4 separate regions of the Homo sapiens genome follow, and regions 1, 2 and 4 are each linked to region 3. The links are contacts of gene promoters, found by promoter capture Hi-C in blood cells and fetal thymus (Javierre and others, 2016). All regions are on one chromosome and are shown on one strand. Each heading gives the region's core, a stretch centred on a gene start or on the middle of the fragment in contact. The rest is flanking DNA. Distances are from core to core; before and after follow the strand shown. Region 1 overlaps BCAR3 (BCAR3 adaptor protein, NSP family member). Region 2 has its middle 7.8 kb from the start of MIR760. Region 3 holds the start of MTF2 (metal response element binding transcription factor 2). Region 4 has its middle 27 kb from the start of MIR760.

Region 1 (5,227 bases), core at 1,530-4,029, 550 kb after region 3:
TCACTCACCCCATGTGAAAGGTCCCCAGAAGCCACATTGGTTTTGTTTTTGTTTTTGTTTTTGTTTTGAGATGGAGTCTCACTCTGTCGCCCAGGCTGGAGGGCAGTGGCGCAATCTCAGCTCACTGCAACCTCCGCCTCCCGGGTTCAAGTGATTCTCCTGCCTCAGCCTCCCGAGTAGCTGGGACTACAGGCACCCGCCACCATGCCTGGCTAATTTTTGTATTTTTAGTAGAGATGGGCTAATTTTTGTATTTTTAGTAGAGACACAGTTTCATCATATTGGCCAGGCTGGCCTTGAATTCCTGACCTTGTGACTCACCCTCCTAGGCCTCCCAAAGTGCTGGGATTACAGGCGTGAGCCACCATGCCAGGCCAGGAGCCAGCACTTCTACAGAGAACTTTTACCATGGTGTCCTATTTCATAGTCACACTAGGAGAGGAGTATTATTATCTCCATTTCACATGTGGGATCAAACAGCTCTTAAAGTTAATGATTAAAACAACAACGAATCAGAATGGCTGGCTCTATCTGGTGTGATGAGGGAAGCACGGAGAACACCTGGTCACCAGAAGTGCTTTATCTTATGCAAATCTGAAAGGCAGACCTCCCTCCAACAGAGGGACAGATACTCTTGGCAACACAGGCAGCAGATCTCATCTGCAATAGTCCATCAGAGGTCCTATTCCGCTCACAGCTGAAAGGAAAGTGCAGGGCTGGGAGAGATGGATGCTGACATCAGAATCTGAGAAGAACCAGGAGGCAACAAAGGCTTGCTGCACAAGAAGGGCTAAGGGACCGCTTTTGTCACATGGAAACACAAACAGTACCCCTTCCTCTATAGGAAGAGGCCAATTCAGAGGGTTCTGTGCATGGAAGGACCTCATTGACTGCCGGCCAGTTTCTTCACTTCCTAACGTAGTCAACTGCCAAGCATAATGCTGTCTGCAGGAGTGACATCCAGAAGGTCAATATTTGCCCTTCCTGGTGCCAAGGTGGGGACAATAAATTCCTTTGCCAGTGGCTCAAAGATTTGGGTACGCCTTGCAGTGTATATCCAAATGGGTGGAAGGGCTGGGTGGAGGAAGGGAGAATTACTAGGGAGAGCAGCAGAAACCCATCTGGGTAACTATCCAGGAACACCAGGACTCCCGGTTGGGTCACTTGTGATAAGATGTGGGAATCCATCCAAGGACAAGCTATAGATGGGCTGGGGATCCACAGCCCCTCTGGACATCCCCACCCCCTGCCCATAACTTCTCTGTAACAGTAGCAAATCTGGCAAACTTGGAGGCAATGGGTATCCAGTACATAAACCAGGAGGGAGATAAACTAGGGAAAGATGGGAATAGGACTTGAAAAGATTTTCTTTTTTTTCGCAAAACTTAGCATTCATGTCTCAACATTTTATATATGTATCCTGAATAGAGATAATAGAAATATAGCAGAATATACTTCTGATCCTAAAAATGTAAGGGGGGGAATGGTATAGATAGCAGGTGGTGGCTATTATATTTAAAAGCTTTACTGAGTAGCATGTGTATTCATCCTTTTAATGGATGTGTGAGCCAATCAGAATACTGAACACTGAATGGTCCAAGAGTAAGCAGGTGAATGACATGAGACCAAACAGAGTCCTTCCCTGAGACTTTTCAAACTAGGGCTGAGAGAGACATCCCCTTTTCCCCTTGGACCACAAGCCTTAAGAATATAAGCCTAGAGCAGCCCACAGCCAGGCCCTCACTGCATAAAGAAGCTGATGGAAGAGAATGTGGTCAAAGTGCTGAGAGAGGCAGATGCAAGAGACTAAGGTCCTAAAAATGTTTTCCTTCCCAGAAGTAGTCATCAACCCAGGCCACTCCACCCCTGCCCTTCCCAGAGGTAAGTTTCCTAGCTCACACCATCAATTTGGGTTTACAGGCTCACCTTATCAGTGTAAGATTAAAACTTGAGATGGAGATGTAACATACTGTGTCTGGCTCTGTTGGAGATTATGTGTATAAAATGTGATCTCTGTATCTGAGAAATGCTACAAGGAGCCAACATGAACTGATGTTACATGAAAACATGCATATTATACACCCATTAATAATAGGGTTGTACACTCATGTGTCAGCAATGAATGGAAATTAATGGTGTTTTGCAGTCTATTCCAGGGACTTCCATGGAAATAATTGAGTTGCCTTGAGTTTTCAAGGATAACAATACACGAATTTGCCTCTAGGAAGAGGGAGAGGGATTCATGTTGTTGGAATGTACTGTGCCACTGGTGTAGGGGTGAGTTCTGCTCCCACACCCAGCACCTCCCAGCCAGGGGAAAGCACAAACAAACTGCATTCTCAGCCCTGCTTATGTGGCATCAGCACCATCCTCAGCTCCTGGAGGATGTTTCCAAAAGGCTTTTCTGCTATGTGGAAGGCCACAGGACCCAATTTAGAGGTACTGGCTGAGACATCCCCTTATTGAGGCCAGGTGAGCTTTTCCCGGTACAGTCACCTGCGAGGGCAACCCTCATGACTTCTTTCCAGGTCAAAGGACAGGACGTTTACATCATCTCCAAATCACATTCAAATCTTCCCAAATGTGCTCCTTAGACAGTCCTTAGGTGGACATGGCCTGGAAGTTTGGGAGCCCCTGCTCTCAGTCTGTGTGGGCCCGTAGGGGTTTCCTTCTCCCCTTAAGAAGCCCTAGCTCCAACCCTGTCCTCCAGGGTTCAGCTACTGAAGCACTCATTAAAATGACTGGTGCCCTTGTCTGTTGGCCTCATGACCCATGTCTTATTGTCATCATTGGAATGCCTGAACATGATAGGGGCCCACTGAACATTTGGAGATAGCTCAGGGATTCTCAACCTGGGGTCCACAAACACCTGGAACTAAGATGTGCAGTAAGTGTGCATGCATATTTCTAGAGACGTGGCTCTTGTTCATGGTATTTGCAAGAAGGTAGGGGCCCTTCCCTGTCTCTCCAAAAATAGTTCAGAACTGCAGAGGCGTGAGGGATGACAGGCCACACAGAAGTCATGCTCCTCACCGGGTAAGCCAGCCTTGCCAGCCTCTGGCTGAATTACGGCTGCTTCCCACTTTGGCCCTAAGAGTCATTTTACGGCCAGGCGCGGTGGCTCATGCCTGTAATCCCAGCACTTTGGGAGGCCGAGGAGGGCGGATCACGAGGTCAGGAGATCAAGACCATCCTCACTAACATGGTGAAACCCCACCTCTACTAAAAATACAAAAAAATTAGCCAGGCATGGTGGCGGGGGCCTGTAGTCCCAGCTACTCGGGAGGCTGAGGCAGGAGAATGGCGTGAACCCAGGAGGCAGAGCTTGCAATGAGCCAAGATTGCACCACTGCACTCCAGCCTGGGTGACAGAGCAAGACTCCATCTCAAAAATAAAAGAGTCATTTTACTCTCTCAAACTTTGAACTAGCTGGGATTCCAAACTGGGAGAGGCTTCCAGAATGCAGTAATTCCCAACTCACACTACCTGTACTCTGTTCAAGTAATCCTGAAACCAGGAGGTAAGGGGACTTGACTCTATTCTGTCAAGGCTTTCATGTAGAGACCATGAGGAGACAGACAGGAGGGCACTGAACCAGGATGGATTCAGCTGGACCACACAGACCCCTTCAAAATACACCCACCTGGGCCTGGTAAAAATAAGAATCCGGCTGAAGACTGGTGGTCACAGGAAACAGTCCATCAGTTTCCTTATTTCTTCTGTACAAAAAGCTCTTTTGAGAATGTGAATGGGGGCTTTATATAGTAAGTTCTCATCCACAGGCTAATAAATATGTGAAATGGCTTCTCAGACCAGGTTCCTGCAGCCTGGACACTGAGGTCATTCAAGAAACAATTAGATGCCATCTGGAGAGGGCTGGGACTCGAAAGGAAATTGCCTTGAAGGGCCAAACAGCATGTTCTCATTCCCAGGGTCTGACACATCCTTATCTTCATTCACATAAAGGATGGATGGAGCTCAGCCAGCAAATCCACACTGGGAGCATAGAAGGAGCCAAGGCTGCAGCAATTAATAAAAGCTTAAGGATCAGGAGAATGCGCACTTCCAGCCTGTCCCAAGTAAATGGATCCCTGCAACAAATTTCTCCCTCGACTACACTTGCATACTCAGGCAGAGCACCTTGCCATAACCCAGCCTTGGCCTCACCAAGCTTGGGGTTTTCAGAGTTTTAATATAAAGCAATGAGAGGAGAGTTACAATTGCTTCTGGCCTAGCACTTTATAGTATATGATGAGCAACCAGATCTTTACAGTATATCATGACTTGGTTATGTTACATAGAGTTAGCATTTCCAGAGGTGTCACAATCCACTCCACTGCAAGGAACAGGCCCACAATTGAGAACCCTTACTTCAAGGATTGACTCTCAATTTTTTCCTTACTTTTAAATGAAAATTTAATGTCTTTCCTACATTAAAAACAAGTCTCTTTAAATGTAAATGCAACTGTTGGGCAAGCTGAGCTTAAAAGTAAACTTTGCTAGAGAAATAAATATGGATTTAGATAAACAAGAGGGGATTATTTGTGTTTTAAGTGTTTTTGCAGCTTTTAGTCTCTTAAGTAGCAAAAGACCCTCTGGTACAGTGGTGCTCAAAGTGTGTTCCACAGGCTGATCTGCAGGCTGGGGGGTCTTCTGGGGGTCTGAGAGGTCAAAACTTATTTTCATAATAATACAGAGACATTTTTTGCCTGTTTCACTGGGTTGACATTTATACTGGTGGTGCAAAAGCTATGATGGGTTAATTCCTGGTGCCTCAGCACAAAGCAAGGCAGAGGCACCAAACTCTACCAGGGGCCATTGCACTCTTGACTCCCATTGGCTCAAAGAATTGAAGAAAAATAGCCAGTTCCACCTAGAAGTCTTTGATGAAGCAGTGAGAATTACTCACTTTATTAAATATGGGCCCTCGAGTACATGTCTCTTTAGTATTCTATACAATGCAACAGGACATGCACAGAAAACAATTCTGCTGTGTTTCCAAGCACAGAGTTTGTGTGAAGGAAAAGCAACTGTGCAATTGAATTGTGGGCTCAACTAGCTGCTTTTTCATAGAGCACAATTTTTACTTCAAAGAATGTCTGACAAACTTGGTTATTCAGACTCGGGTATTTATTTGGCAGCCATTTTCTGAAAAACGAACAAAGTGAGCCTGTTACTTCAAGGAAAACAACAGACAGTGTTTGTTGCCAATGATAAAATTCCAGG
Region 2 (5,076 bases), core at 2,197-4,696, 760 kb after region 3:
ATCTCTCCCACTCTAAGTTCCCACACCACCCCTAATCCCGCTTGAAGCAGCCCTGAGAAACATCACCCATTATCTCTCCATACCACCCCCCAAAATTTTCACCGCCCCAACACTTTACCACTATTTCATTTTATTTTTCTTATTAACATAAGAAGACAGGAATGTCAGGCCTGAGCCCAAGCCTGCATGTATACATCCAGATGGCCTGAAGTAACTGAAGAATCACAAAAGAAGTGAAAATGGCCGGTTCCTGCCTTATCTGATGACATTCCACCATTGTGATTTGTTCCTGCCCCACCTTAACTGAGCGATTAACCTTGTGAAATTCCTTCTCCTGGCTCAGAAGCTCCCCTACTGAGCATCTTGTGACCCCCGCCCCTGCCTGCAAGAGAAAAACCCCCTTTGACTGTAATTTTCCACTACCCACCCAAATCCTATAAAACTGCCCCACCCCATCTCCCTTCGCTGACTCTCTTTTCAGACTCAGCCCACCTGCACCCATGTGATTAAAAAGCTTTATTGCTCACACAAAGCCTGTTTGGTGGTCTCTTCACATGGATGCACACGACAGCATCAGTAATCCCAGATACTTGGGAGGCTAAGGCAGGAGAATCGCTTGAACCCGGGAGGCAGGGTTGCAGTGAGCTGAGACTGTGCCATTGCACTCCAGCCTGAGTGACAAAGCAAGACTCTGTCTCAAAAAAGTAAAAAATAAAAATAAAAAAATAAATAAATTACCCTGTCTGAGGTATGTCTTTATAGCAAAGTGAGAATGGACTAATACAGCTAGCAATATAGAATAAAGCTCCAGTTCATTTAAGCCTCAGTTGCTCTGTGTTTTGTGTTTTCTGTGTTTCACTCACTTAGTTCAATGTAATTGATGCACCTTCTTTCTTCTTCCTCCTTCTTCATTCCCCAAAACTTCAATGAGCTTCTACCCACTCAGCTCCTGTTCCTGGTCTCTCCTTCCTTTTTACTTCTCTGTTGCTTCCAAATTTTGCCTCCAGATTTACTAGAGAGCCATATTAATCCATTCTCAGTTCGAATTACTTTAAATTCTCATTCCTTCTCCAGGATCCATCTTGTTGCAGCTCTGAGACTGCTGGGTCCCACCCCTTCAAGATTCCTAGCCAATCAGGCTCCACTTCTCTCCCTTTAACCAGTCCTGTAAGTAAGCCATATCAGGTTGGGTTGTAAACATTTCTTTGTTTTCTGGCTTGCAACTTGGAGCCACATTCTCACATTCTAGGTGCCATCTGTAATGAGTGGTACAGTGTGGGTACCAGCCCAGCAGAGTGGTGGGTAGCCTGCTCAATGAGAATGGGCTCTGGCCCTTACTTCATGTTAGTACCTATGAGCTCAGTATCAGCCCCAGTCATAAATGTACCTGAAGAATTAATTGATCCATTCAACACTCACATGAGTCATGTTCAAGGCTCTAGCATGGACTCTTGTTAGGACAGTATCTACAGGGTCTTTCCATGTATCATTATTGTTCGCCACAGGCTTAGAAATGACAAACGCTTGGCCAGCAAGTAAGATCATCCAGAGAAATGGGGGAAGGGATGGCCCCTTTCTTTCTCTCTTTATGCTCCTGGCCTTAGTCTGTTTTGTATTGCTATAAAAGAATACTGGAGACTGGGTAATTCATAAAGAAAAGAGGTTTGCTTAGCTCACAGTTCTGCAGGCTGAGAAGTTCAAGGGCATGGCCCTGCTTCCCGCAAGGGCTTTTGTGCTGCATCACAACATGGCAAAGGAGATCAAAAGGGAAGTGGACATGTGTGAAGGGGGAGAAAAACCTGAGGAGCATCCTGTCTTTATTACAACCCACTCCCTGGAAACCAATCCATATCCATGAGAAGTAATCCAGTCTAGCAACAGTGAGAACACATGTACTACTATGAGAGTAGCACGAAGCCATTCATAAAGGATCCACCCTCATTACCCAAATACCCCCCACTAGGTCTGACCTCCAACACTGCCACACTGGGGATCAAATATCAACATGCATTTTGGTGGGGACAAACTAACTCTATGCAAACCATAGCACCTCTCCATTACTAGTGTTGAAAAACTTGATACTAAGTAGCCCTCCCCTTTCTAGTCATTTATAGTCTGCTACTGAAGATCTGAGAAAAACGGGATGCTAACCTTACCATTCTACAAACGCAGTTATTATACAATTACACTGTCAGGGATCCAGAAGTAAATAATTTGCATTCAAGGGCAGACATTCCAAGCAAGGAGGGCAATTTCAGCCGGTGTATTTGCTACTGGTTGTGACTATCTACCTGATGTCTTGAGATATAATAAAATGCACAGAATGGATCATTTCAAGGAAAAAGTGGGCAAAGACCAAAAAATAGTGAAATAGTGAAATAAGGAGCATCCCAGTGGACCTCCATGTCCTTCAGATGAACTGGGACACATTCTGAGTCTAGTTCCAAATTTCAGTTATTTAGTTATAAATAAACAAAGCAATGGCAAATAAAAACTAAAAAGTGCCAGGCGTGGTGGCTCACGCCTGTAATCCCAGCACTTTGGGAGGCCGAGGCAGGTGGATCACCTGAGCTCAGGAGTTTGAGACCAGCCTGGTGAAACCCCATCTCTACTAAAAATATAAAATTAGCTGGGCGTGGTGGCATGTGCCTGTAATCCCAGCTGCTCAGGAGGCTGAGGTGGGAGAATCGCTTGAATCGTGGAGGTTGCAGTGAGCCGAGATTGTGGCACTGCACTCCAGCCTGGGCAAAAAGAGTGAAACTCAGTCTAAAAGAAAATAAAAAGAAAAAAACTAAACTAAACTAAAAAGTGGGCAATGTATCTAGTTAGATTCAGAAAGCTGAATGACAAACAACAAGATCTCAATTGGGACAAGGATTGCTGATCTCATCTATGGGTCTATAACAGGAACATACCATGGGGAAACAGCAGAAGTTGTGAAAGCTTAGATACCTCTGGCTGGAGGATTTTCTTTATCAATCAGCTTGGTACTCAAGTATGGTCATTGCCTAACTGAGGTCGTGGGCCTGATCCTTCTGACTCAGAAGAAGGAAGGCAGCCAGGAGTTATTCATCTGCCTCTTTTAGATTGGACTGAATCTACATTCTGTTAGACACCATTAGCAATATAACTTTTCTTCCTCAGTTCCCTCACAAAATGAGAAGTAAAAGGTCATAGTTTCCTCTGAAGTAATTTTTTTGGGCCAATATATCAGATTGATTCTGAGCTTTTTGATGGAGTTTTGAGATTTGCTTATTAAGGATTTAAATTCATGCTAATAACAGAAGCCCAAGTGGAATAATGAGAGCTTGAATACCTAAGCCCTAAACCAGTGCATTTTAAACTTTAGTGCAAATGAGTCACTGAGGGGATCTTAGTAAAATACAGATTTGATTCAGCAGGCCTAGGGTGGGGCCGAGAGCCTGCATTTCTAATCTGCTCCCAGGTCATGCTGATACTCCTGGTTCATGGTCAGCATTTTTGCAGGAAGGGCAGAGGGCATTATTTTCAAATTTGGCTACATATGAGAATCACCTAGGGAGTTTAAAAAAAATGCTGATGCCAGGGTCCCATCCCCAGAAATTGTGATTTAACTGGCCTCAGGGTGCATCCTGGGCATCAAGATTCTAGAGCGTGGTAGAGTTTGAAGACCGCTAGTCTAACAAGTCTGCTCCCAGTTGCTTGCTGATTCTCTCCTGATTTCTTTTCTAGGAGAAACTGCTGTAGTCCAGGGTATATGTGAACTTGGGGACAGGTGCCTGGATTCAATCCTGCTGCTTTCCCTGTGGTTTGCCTTCCCATCTGGGAATGGGGCAATGATCCTGCCTACCTTAGAGGGTTGTTATGAAGATTAAGTGAGGTCTGATATACATGAAGAACCCAGAAAAGTGCCTGGTGTGATGCGTTATTACTTCATTATTATTTTCAACTGCTAAACAATTAAGATTCACTAAGCTTTAATAGATGGTTATTTGTTGTGAGGCCCACGAGTGGGGCTCAGAATGCCTTTCCTTCCAAATATGCTTACCAGAAGAAGTCATCCTACTAGTTTGTTGAGAACTTAAAAGGCAGAGATGTCATTCTGAGGGGAAGAAATTTAAGACCTACTCCCCCAAACTGGGTCACTGAAAGCAGGAATTAGGACACTGAAGATCCACTTCTACTTCCACAAACGCATTCAGGCATCATTTATGGAGTGTCCACTGTGTACATGATATTCTGCCAAGCCTTGGGGAGAATTACAAAACAGTTAGAAAGCACGGATGTTTAGCTTTCAAGAGCTTCTGGTCTAATGCAGAAGATAAGCTAGGCACATAGTCAAGTAGCTTCCTTATTGCCTACAGGACTCATTCATTTGTTCAATCAATATTCAAAGCTACTTGTTGTGAGCTAGCCACAATGCTAGGGACTGAGGTTACAAAGATAAAGGAAAAGAAGACGTGCTCCCCCCACTTTCCTCCCACTCCCCCAAGATGCTTATTGTCTGGGAGAAGAGATAGAAAACCACACAGAAAATTATAGAGCTTTGAAAGTACCTTGGGAATCCAGGAGTCCCTCCCCACCACCAGCAGACTAGGCTGCAGAAGAATGTCTGGGAAAATTCTCGGAGGAGGTGACATGGGGCTGCTCAACCCCAGGCTCCTTAGCCTTGCATTTGAAGCGCTTCCGGATCTTTGCCCCACTGACTTTCTCAGCTGTATCTCTTAAGTCAAGCCCATTTCCTATACTCATTCATGCTCTGCTGTCTGACTTTGCTCAAGATTGCAAGGTCCATGGCAGCAAGGACAGCATTTGTCTTCTTCACCAAAGGGTCCCAAGAGACTTGTGGAGAGCCTGGCTAGTCTCAATGCTTAAATGAATGAATGTGGTCTTTTGTTTGTGCAGGGACAAGCCTGACCAGCCTTGAAGACCCAAGTAAGGCTCAGCCTTTGTTTAGCCATCTCAACAGCAGAGACAGGTAACTGCCACTTACAAGATACTCCTACATCCTTCCTGAGCCCTACTAGGCTTGGAAGCCTGGTCAGCCAGGCAACCAGCCATGAGATCTGGAATTGGTGGTGCTGCCTGCCTTAGACA
Region 3 (5,116 bases), core at 1,830-4,329:
TAAAAAGAAATAACTACTGACTGGTACAACGTAGATGAACCTAAAAAATATTCTGAGTGAAAGAACCCAGATGCAAAAGACTACTTATTGTATGAAACCATTTATATGAAATTGTCAGAAAGCAGATAGCAGATTGCCTAGGGCTTGGAAGGAGGGTTGACTGCAAATGCGCATAATGAATTTTTTGGGGGTGATGGAAATGTTTTAAACGTGGATTGTGGTGATGATTGCACAATTCTAGTCACTGCTTATTGTAGACATTTAGGAACTGAAAGCGACAGACATTCTATCTCAACCCAAGCTTCCATGATTACCATAGCATGGGGGAGGGAGATGTGTCTCTGCTTCTTAAAGATTCTCCTGAGAAGTGATACATGTCACCCATTTTATTGGTCAAAGCAATTAACTTCAGGGGTGCAAGAAAGTGCAAATTTTTTTTTCTTTTTTCTTCGAGACAGAGTCTCCCTCTGTCGCCTAGGCTGGAGTGCAGCGGTGCAATCTTGGCTCACTGCAATCTCGGCCTCCTGGGTTCAAGTGATTCTCTGCCTCAGCCTCCCAAATAGCTGGGATTACAGGCATGCACCACCACGCCCGGCTAATTTTTGTATTTTTAGTAGAGACAGAGTTTTGCCATGTTGGCCACGCTAGTCTGGAATTCCTGGCCTAAAGTGATCTGCCCCCCTCAGCCTCCCAAAGTGCTGGGATTACAGGCGTGGCCACCGCGCCCGGCCAGAGTGCAATTTTACTATGTGTCTGGAAGAGAGGGGAACCAGAATACTTATGAACCACCCTAAGGATGATCACAGAAATACATACAACAATAAAGGGTACAGTTTACTCTGATCAGAGTTCACTCTATATTTCCGAGGAACCACAACTACAGCAGGTTTTTTTTTTTTTTTTTTTTTTTTTTGAGGCAGTCTCACTGTGGCTCAAGTAAGCCTACCACCTCAGCCTCCTGAATAGCTGGGACTACAGGCAGGGGCCCAGCTAATTTTTAAATTTTTTGTAGAGACAGGGTCTCACTATGTGGCTCAGACTGCATACTGGTCTGGAACTCCCCAGCTCAAGTGATCCTTCTACCTTGGCCTTTCAAAGTACTGGGATTACAGGAGTGAGTTGCTGGTGGCTGGCTGACAGGTATTCTTTATACTTGACTGTGACTCCCTGAGTGTCCTTAAATCTCTGAACACTTGGTTTGCTTACACCTTTGTACTCACACGTTTGCACAGAAAAATAACACTTTTTTTTGATAGAGGCATAATTTACTTCTCTAATGTATAAGGGATTAGAATACTTTTGTGTAGCCAAAGAGCCTAAATTATTAGAGTTTCTGAGGTGGAAATGAATGCGTCTGAAGTATTGAATCACTGAAGATTTTGAAGTTGAGGCTTGGTGACCACTTTACAGAAATGTTGAGGAAAACTTAGACCAAACGTTCTCCAAAACAGATGTTCTCTGATTAGGCTTAGCTGCACAGCAAATATATCTGTTTGTGCAATATCTTTATTAATTTTTGTACTGCATCTACTTTTTAATATTTTATTTATTTATTTACCTTAATGCCACGTTCCTGAATGGGAATGCATCTACTTTTTTTTTTTTTTTTTTGAGATGGAGTTTTTGCTCTTGTTGCCTAGGCTGGAGTGCAATGGCACGATCTTGGCTCACCACAACCTCTGCCTCCTGGGTTCAAGCGATTCTCCTGTCTCAGCCTCCCGAGTAGCTGGGATTACAGGCATGTGCCACCACACCTGGCTAATTTTTGTATTTTTAGTAGAGACGGGGTTTCTCCAAGTTGATCAGGTTGGTCTCGAATTCCCGACCTCAGGTGATCTGCCTGTCTCGGCCTCCCAAAGTGCTGGAATTACAGGTGTGAGCCACCGCGCCCGGCTGCATCTGCTTTTTTTAAGTCAAAATTTTCCTCAGCCAACGTATGAAGGTCACTTAAGACGAATTTATGAGAGACGATGATGAGAATTGAAATAAAGTGAAACCTGAAAGGTAGTAGGTAAGTAGATACAGTGAGGGTACAGTAAGAAGACAGACTTAAAAGATTAGGACTATTATTCAGGAGAAGCAGAGGAGTGGAAGGGTATGACCACAATATTTAAAGTATTGAATGGTATTGGATAAAACGAATATGCTTATTTGCCAAATTCTGAGATCACAGGCTGAGGGAACCCCTTTTGAAGTATGAGCCAAATGAGCTTAGACCACAAAAGGTACTTTTTCAGAGACAGAAAAAATATGGTGTTCACTATCCCTGTGGCATAATATGGGACAAAAATATAAAATGGCTTTAAAAATATTTTGACGAAATTATAAATAAAGATTCCACACGTGGCTACTAAGAGGAGCTGGGTTGTATCTAGGTGTAAGTTAAAGAGACAAGCATACAATCTCACAGCTTGTCAGTTGGGACCCCTGTAGGCAGCAGAATCTGGGCAGGCTAAGGGTCTGCACTAATAAACAATTCTGTTTTCTTAAACCATTTTGCAGGGGACTATTCTCAGATTTCATTACAACTAGGAAGGACTGCAAAGCGGGTAAACAGAAAACAACCTTTCATCGTTAGGAAAAAAATCGTCTGAAAGTCTTTCATAAAAGCAGCTCCTGATAAGGAGTTTGGGACTGGACAGTGAATCGCTGAATAAAATTTAATCTCGACATCCTGGGTCTTCTCCCCTCTGAAGGAAATTCTAACAGCAGGCCTTAGGATGAAAGTAGAGGAAACGTGCTTCAGTTAAGGTTTTCTCCAGGGAAAAGAAATCGGCCCAGCAAGATGCACAGAGCACCGTTACGACCACGCACACCGAAGGTCGCACACGACCCTTTTCCTGTATAACAGTGCCAGCCTGCCGACGATCAGGAGCGCAGCTTTCACTATTGTGTTAGCCCCGGCGGCGGAAGGACTGAGCCTCACTGCAACGTTAAAGAGTCCTTCTTTGTTCAGCCCCAGTCGGGGACGCAGGGCGCGGTGTTCCTCCGCGCTCGCCGCGCAGTCCCTGCCCCCCCGCGGCTTTGGAGAGCTGCCATTCGGCACCGGAGTCGCTCCGCGCTCCCAGAATGCACCGGCAGTCCGCGGGAAACCAAAATGGCGAGGGGCTGTATTGAAGTGGGCTGTGTTTGAGGCCGGTGTAAGAACGCTCATTCTACCCCCAACCCTTGTCTCCAAGGACCTCGGTTTGTGCGTGCATATGTGCCGGGTACCCGGTGGGGCGGGTGCCCAGTAAGTGCTCGGACTCGCAGGGGAAGCGCCCACGGGGACGGATTGGTTGTTTTTTCCTGTATGAAGCGGTTGGCACCACTGAAGTGACCGAATGAGGTGAGAGACCTTGGCCTGGGAACCGACTCTTCCGGAGGAGATGGGGGTTGGGGGAAGGAGGAAGAAAGGAAGCAAGTATAAAAGGGAAAGATGGAGGACCAAGGTGGGGGTGGGGGCTCCTGTATGTGGGTGCCTTTGCATTTATGTGTATATTGAAAAGAATGGATGAAGAGGAGTAGTCAGTTGAGTGTTGGGAGAAAATAGGGACTAAAGGAGCGAGGAGGTCGTTGGGGGAGTCTGTTGGAGGAACAAGATGAAACGTTGAGACGGGGAAGCTGTGTTTGGAGGGCAGGAAGGAACCTGGGGGCGGGAGACGGTTGGAGGGGCAGGATGAACCTGGTGACGAGGGGGTGGGGAGCCGAGAGGAGGAGCCGTTGGGAAATGGGGGCTGAGGGAAATGTGGGGAGCAGAGTGGAGGGCTGCCTGGGACCTTAGCAGTGCGCAAAGGGAAGTAGCAGCTTGGAATCGGAGGGTGGAATTGTATGGAATTGGAGTAAAGGGGGTCGAGTGTAAGTGCTGGTAAGGATAAGGGGAACACACTGAAGTGGAGGTTGGAAGCACAACCTGAAAGCTTAAAGGGAAGCGGTGGGAGGGAAAGTGAGATGGGGGAAAGCTAGGTAGCTTATATTTGGAGCTCACCAAAAATATGAGGCTTTTCTTGTGTTTAATTAAACCTAACTCATATAATCTACGTCTAGGATGTAGATTTGTATTGTATTCATTTTTACAACTGAGGTAATTACGGCTCAAGGAATTTTAACCAATTTGCCAAGATTTCTTAACATATTTCGGTAGTGCCAGAACTCTAACTCTGTGTTTTACAATCTGGTGTCCTTGGTTGCTAGAATTTTTCTTTGGAAGCAATTAGAGGGAACAGATGGATTTATCGGGGTAATCTGACTAACAGCAAGGGTTTGTGAACAATGGGAAAAGGCTTATGGAATGTTACTCTATTCTTTAAAACATTTAACTTTGGTTAAAGATAGAAACCATGTAACACTAACTTAAATGTGAAAACCTAGCTAGGCCTGTGTGTAATACATAGGAAGGCACCATGTGAGGTCAGTACAGAGCTAGAAATATGTAAATAGTACCTGATTTAATTTGACTTCAGAACCTCCGGTAGTAATAGTAGTTACTTTCTCCTTCAGATGGATTCCATGTGACCCTCCTGTATACCTAGCCTACAAGCTGGTTTCAATTTCCATGGTTTCATTCTCTCTTGGGAATTCCTTTTTTTTTTTTTTTTGTCAGTAAATTTCAAAGATAGTTGTATGTAGAAGTAGTTAATGTGGATAAAATGTAATTAAATTCACAATAACCTTTTTAAGATTTGAAAATGCTTTAAAGGGAGTTGTTTTGACTGATGGCTTTAAGTGCCCTATAGTTTAGTTATAACTTGAGAGGGAATACAAAATGACTTGTTTTTTCAGATTCCTAAATATAAAAATGTATTTGAATTCACATTTTAAAATTAGTTCACCTGCAGTTTTTTAAAGTGCTAAAAATGTTCTAAATATTTGAATTAAGAACACACCTGCTTCCTGATACTACATTTATAATGTTAGTGGGTATTAACGGAAATGTGTAACTATCAGGATGAAATGCATACACAGTTTTAGAACTAGTTGTACAGAAATCATCTTGTTAAGCCTTTTTTCTAGATGACACAATTATATTTAATAGTTCTTTAAATCATCCCCGTTGCCTCAAAGCTCTGTTAGGAAAGACATTCTGTGTATTTTACTGTGGGTCATTAACTCTTTGATTTCATGGATTATAAATATT
Region 4 (4,760 bases), core at 911-3,410, 740 kb after region 3:
AATGGGCCACTGGGCATCAAAGCAGGGGCTGAAGGGGGTCACCCCCAGTGCGGGGGGCAGCAGGCACCATGGTCTGGCATTGCTCTCTGGTTTTTGGGGCTGAGAGCCCAGCATTCCCAGTGGGTCACTTCCATGGTTTTTGAAAGCTACCATTTATTGAGCACTGTGCTAAGTATTTTACATGTTATATTATCTCACTGTATTAACCTCACAGACATTCCATGAGACAACTTTTTTCTTTTTCTCTCATTTACAGATGAGGAAATGAGTCTCTGAAAGTTGAGTGTCGTGACCTTTCATACAGTTCAGAAGTGGCAGAGGTAGAGGTGGAAGTTAGGCTGGCTCTAAAGCCTGTGCCCTTAGCCATTTGGTTCTCTGGCCTTCCCTGTGCTTCTCCATGTCATCTCTGGCAGCATTCCCAATCTTACTCCTTTTCTATTCTCCTTCCCTGTAAGTCTCTGAGTTGCTTCCCAGCTCAAGGTGACATCCATGCACAAACTACATATGACATTCTCCATCCTGGCTTTGATGGGCTACAGCTGACTAGCCCTGTTTACCCCCCCACATCCCTGCCCAGCATCTTTGCAGTATTTTGCCCCACAGCACTTTTTGCCAAGGGGCTCTCCTCCTCCCTGCTTTCCCACCCTCCCAGTTCACCTTCCCCTAGACCTCCTCAGCCCTCTTGGCTCTGCCAGTCCCAAGGAAGCTTTGCTCCCCGCCGCCCCACACCACACGAAGCTTCCCAGCCTACTGAGACTTTAGTGACTGCTCCCTCCTTACCGGTGACGCACTGGTTCCCAGGGCCCCTGGTTTGAGTGTTAACCACGTGCCACTTTATGGTACTCTTAATACTGCTGACTTTGCTATGTTATTTTTCATGTGCTAGTGCTTCCCACAATTAGATTATAAGCTCTTTGAGTGCCAAGTGTCTCCTTTTGTACTTTGTGACAGTTTTCTTAACACGTACATCAGTGCTTTACACACACAAGGAGTTCAGAAATATCTGTTGGTTTCTGTGTGATTACACTCATGAGAGACTGATATCAGCACTGTTAGCCAGGATCACACTAAAGCACAAGTGCCACACAGCTGACGTTAATCTTCAATGTCTACCGCCTCCTTCTCAGGGCCTTCCTCTTCTGCCTGCAGGCTAAATACCTTGGTCTATGCCTACCACGCAAGTCCCCACCTCAGGACTGGTCTGACTCAGTGCTGTGTACCTGGGCTGCCTACTGTCGTGGTTGTGGGTGTCTCCAGAGCGGAAGTGTCTGGGTTTGTATCCCAGTTCTGCCACTTCCTAGCTGTGATCTGAGCAAGCTACTTAACCACTCAGAGCCTGTTTCCTCACCTGTAAAATGGGAGGTAACAGTACTTTCCATCATTAATCAAGTATTTACTGAGGACCAGGCATTTGTTTCATTATATGTCAGGCATTATTCTAGGTGCTGGGTATAAAGCAAATTCTCACCAACAGGGAGCTCACATTCTAGTGGAGAGACACAGACAGGTAATGAAGTAAACATAGTGTGTCAGAGAGTGGTAAGTGCTGTGTAGGAGAGTAAGTGGGTGGGTGATGAATGGTTTTAAAGAGCAGGCTAAGGAGGCACTGGAATACAGCCCCATGGGTCAGTAATGATTAAATGAGCAAATGAGTGTAAGCACCTAAAACACTGCTTGGTACATAGTTAAGTGCTGAAGAATTGTTAGATATTAGGTATCAGCAATGTATATATGATATTTTTGTAAATAGAAAAGTATCAAATGTTTGTTATAATAATGTTGAGATAGAAGCAATGATCCACATGTTGTTATAATTGTATACTCTGTGGGTTGTCCTTTTTTTTTTTTTCTGAGATGGAGTCTCACTCTGTTGCCGGGCTAGAGTGCAGTGGTGTAATCTCGGCTCACTGCAATCTCCGCCTCCCCGGTTCAAGCCATTCTCCCGCCTCAGGCTCCCAAGTAGCTGGGATTACAGGCGTGTGCTGCCACACCCAGTTATTTTTGTATTTTTAGTAGAGACGGGGTTTCACCACGTTGGCCAGGATGGTCTCAATCTCCTGACCTCGTGATCCACCCACCTCGGCCTCCCGAAGTGCTGGGATTACAGGTGTGAACCCCCACGCCCAGCCGGGTCGCCCATTTTAAACTGACTTTGCTAACCAATTGATACTTCGGGAGCACCTTCCCTGGCCACTCCTCCCACTGGTTACCAAGCCCACTTGCTTTTGCTTTTAACTACCAAAATACATGCGCTTTAGCAAAAGATACAAAGGTAGGTTGCTTCCTACTCTTAGCTCTCTTCTGGATCTTTTATTTTTATTTTTTATTTTTTGAGGAACAAACTTACTACTTGAAAGTGGATTAAAATTCTAATCCTAAAATGTGACCTGTATTAAATATTGGACCTTTGCAACTTACAGAGAAAATTCAGGCAGACGCTGCTGGGTGCGAGTATCTTTTCACCTACCACAAACACTATAACTTTGCCAGATTTATTTATATATTTCCAGTTATTTATTTATTTATTTTTCTTTCCAACTTTTATTTTAGGTTCAGGGGTACAAATGCAGGTTTGTTACATGGGTAAATTGTGTGTCATGGGGGTTTGGTGTACAGATTATTTCATCACCCAGGTAATGGGCATCATACCTGATAGACAGTTTTCTGATTCTCACCCTCCTCCTATCCTCCACCCTCAAGTAGGTCCCAGGGTCTGTTGTTCCCTCCTTTGTGTCCATGTGTACTCAATGTTTAGCTCCATTTATAAATGAGAACATGTGGTATTTGGTTTTCTGTTCCTGCATTAATTTGCTTAGGAGCCAGATTTATTTAACAGTAAACTCTAAACTCAGAACTCACTCACACAAACACAGTTAAAGATGCTACTCAAGTATCCAGAGTCCATCAGGACCTCAATTTCTGTGGAAATTGGTAAGAATACCAAAAGAAAAACTAGTTTTCGATGCTCTTAATACTTCTGACACCAAAATGTGTAGGTTTTCCAAACTAAGTACTTGTACTTCTTTAGTTCTCTGCAGACACCAATTAGGATCTTACCATTTAACTCAATTCTGATACTAACTACCTGGAATTAGCACAAACCCTACAGGTTAAGGGATCAGCCCCATAAAACTGACCCCCACTTCAGATGCCAATCACAAGTCTCAGGTCTCCTGTATTCCTGACTGACCAGCTATAAATTGGGGGTTCCCCAAATTCCCTCCTCAGGTTCAAAAATTTGCTATAATGCTTCTCATAACTCAGTGAAACACTTTGCTTACTCTGATTAGTTTATTATGGAGAATAAAACTCTAGGAGCAGCCAATGAAAGAGATGCATAGGGCAAGGTATGTGGGAGGAGGTGAGATGCTTCCACACTCTCTGGGCATTTGCCTTCCTGACATGTGGATGTGTTCACCAACCTGGAAGCTCTCTGAATAACGTTGTTTAGGGTTTTTGTGGAGGTTCCGTTACATAGGCATGATTGATTAAATCAGGGGGCATTGGTGATTGGACTCAGTCTCCAACTCCCCTCTTCCCAGAGGTCAGACGATGGGGCTGAAAGTTCCAACCCTCTAATCGTAAGCTTGATTCCTCTGGTAAGCCGACCTCATCCTGAAGCTGTCTAGCTCCCCCACCCCCACCCAACCTAGAGTTACCTCATTAGCATTACAAATTACATCTTATCTCTCCAGAAATTCCAAGGGTGTTAGAAGCTCTTATAGCAGGAACTAGGGACCAAGACCCTAGTTACATTATAAAAAAACAAAACAAAAAAAACTCCTGTCACCCCTATCACTCCGGAAATTACAAGAGTTTTAGGAGCTCTGTGCTAGGAACTGGGGCAGAGACCAAATGTATTTTTCTTATTTTGTCACAAGTACATAAGAGCCTTACTCGACCTTCAAATCATCATTTGCCTCTTGAAGGTCGTTCTTCAACACTGAGGGGTCTGGGGAGGGTAAATCGGCTGTCCTCCCTTGAGACTCCCTCAGGGATCCTTCTAACCCAGATTCCATTGAAGTTCAGAGATTAGAGGACAGGAATCTCCTGCAGAGGCCAGGAGCAAAGCCTCCTCTGACCTCACCAAGGAGATGACCAATAAGGGAAAGGCCTGTAGAGAGCTCTGTGAAACTGTGGGTGGATGTCTTCGATTTCTCTTTAGAGATAGCCCTTGGATGCAGATGGAGTTCAGAGGTGGTGGTAAAGAAACCTTCAAAAATGTCCACGGTACACATCACGCTGTTTGCCCACACTAAATACCGTAGCCCCAAAGACTACAGGGGCCTTTCAACATGCAGTTACTGGGTGGTGAAATGTTAGAGCCATTTGAAAAGTGAGCAAACGTCTTGGAATCACATTTTGGCATGAGGTCACTCTATTTGTATTTGTGTCTACAGTTGTCCCTCCATGAGGATGCTAATAATAACCACCACCAAATAAAAAGAATTAGCATTTACTGAGCACTACACATATACTTAGCACAGTACTCCCTGTGTTGTGCTAAGCACTTAGCATACCTTATAATCATCACAAAAATTTAATGAAGTAGGTACTATTATTAGACCCATTTTTACCATTATTATGCCCATTTCACAGAAGAAGAATCAATTAGATTGCTCAGAGAGTTAAATATCTTGCCTGAGGTCACCCAGCCTGTAAGCATGAGAGCTTGGGTGTGTGCTTTCTGCACCTTGTATTTAACCACTGTACCAGTCTGCAATAACTGAGTCACTTGCAAAGGAGCACCTTCTAATTCC

What was found. The method cuts DNA at HindIII sites, captures the fragments that hold promoters and counts their contacts. A CHiCAGO score of 5 or more calls a contact.
Region 1: a fragment that was not itself captured here is called in contact with the fragment with the promoter of MTF2 in region 3 in 4 of 17 cell types (naive CD4 T cells, megakaryocytes, naive B cells and 1 more); the score reaches 7.1 in naive CD4 T cells.
Region 2: a fragment that was not itself captured here is called in contact with the fragment with the promoter of MTF2 in region 3 in 8 of 17 cell types (naive CD8 T cells, total CD8 T cells, naive B cells and 5 more); the score reaches 7.4 in naive CD8 T cells.
Region 4: a fragment that was not itself captured here is called in contact with the fragment with the promoter of MTF2 in region 3 in 1 of 17 cell types (megakaryocytes); the score reaches 6.5 in megakaryocytes.

Annotation. Positions count from the first base shown.
Region 1 is chr1:93,621,823-93,627,049 of GRCh38, forward strand. The region is part of intron 3 of BCAR3 (BCAR3 adaptor protein, NSP family member); the gene reads right to left. Among named protein-coding and RNA genes, the nearest start is that of BCAR3-AS1, 32 kb to the left of the region's middle. The HindIII fragment of the contact is 2,518 bases long and covers 1,521-4,038 here.
Region 2 is chr1:93,836,519-93,841,594 of GRCh38, forward strand. It overlaps a transcript of BCAR3 not described here. Among named protein-coding and RNA genes, the nearest start is that of MIR760, 7.8 kb to the right of the region's middle. RefSeq lists a silencer at 2,862-3,062. The HindIII fragment of the contact is 1,011 bases long and covers 2,942-3,952 here.
Region 3 is chr1:93,076,204-93,081,319 of GRCh38, forward strand. MTF2 (metal response element binding transcription factor 2) reads left to right here and starts at 3,080. Exons shown (of 15, transcript NM_007358.4): 1 at 3,080-3,328. The coding sequence starts at 3,324. RefSeq lists enhancers at 2,643-2,892, 2,829-3,123. The HindIII fragment of the contact is 3,598 bases long and covers 300-3,897 here.
Region 4 is chr1:93,817,235-93,821,994 of GRCh38, forward strand. It overlaps a transcript of BCAR3 not described here. Among named protein-coding and RNA genes, the nearest start is that of MIR760, 27 kb to the right of the region's middle. The HindIII fragment of the contact is 2,848 bases long and covers 737-3,584 here.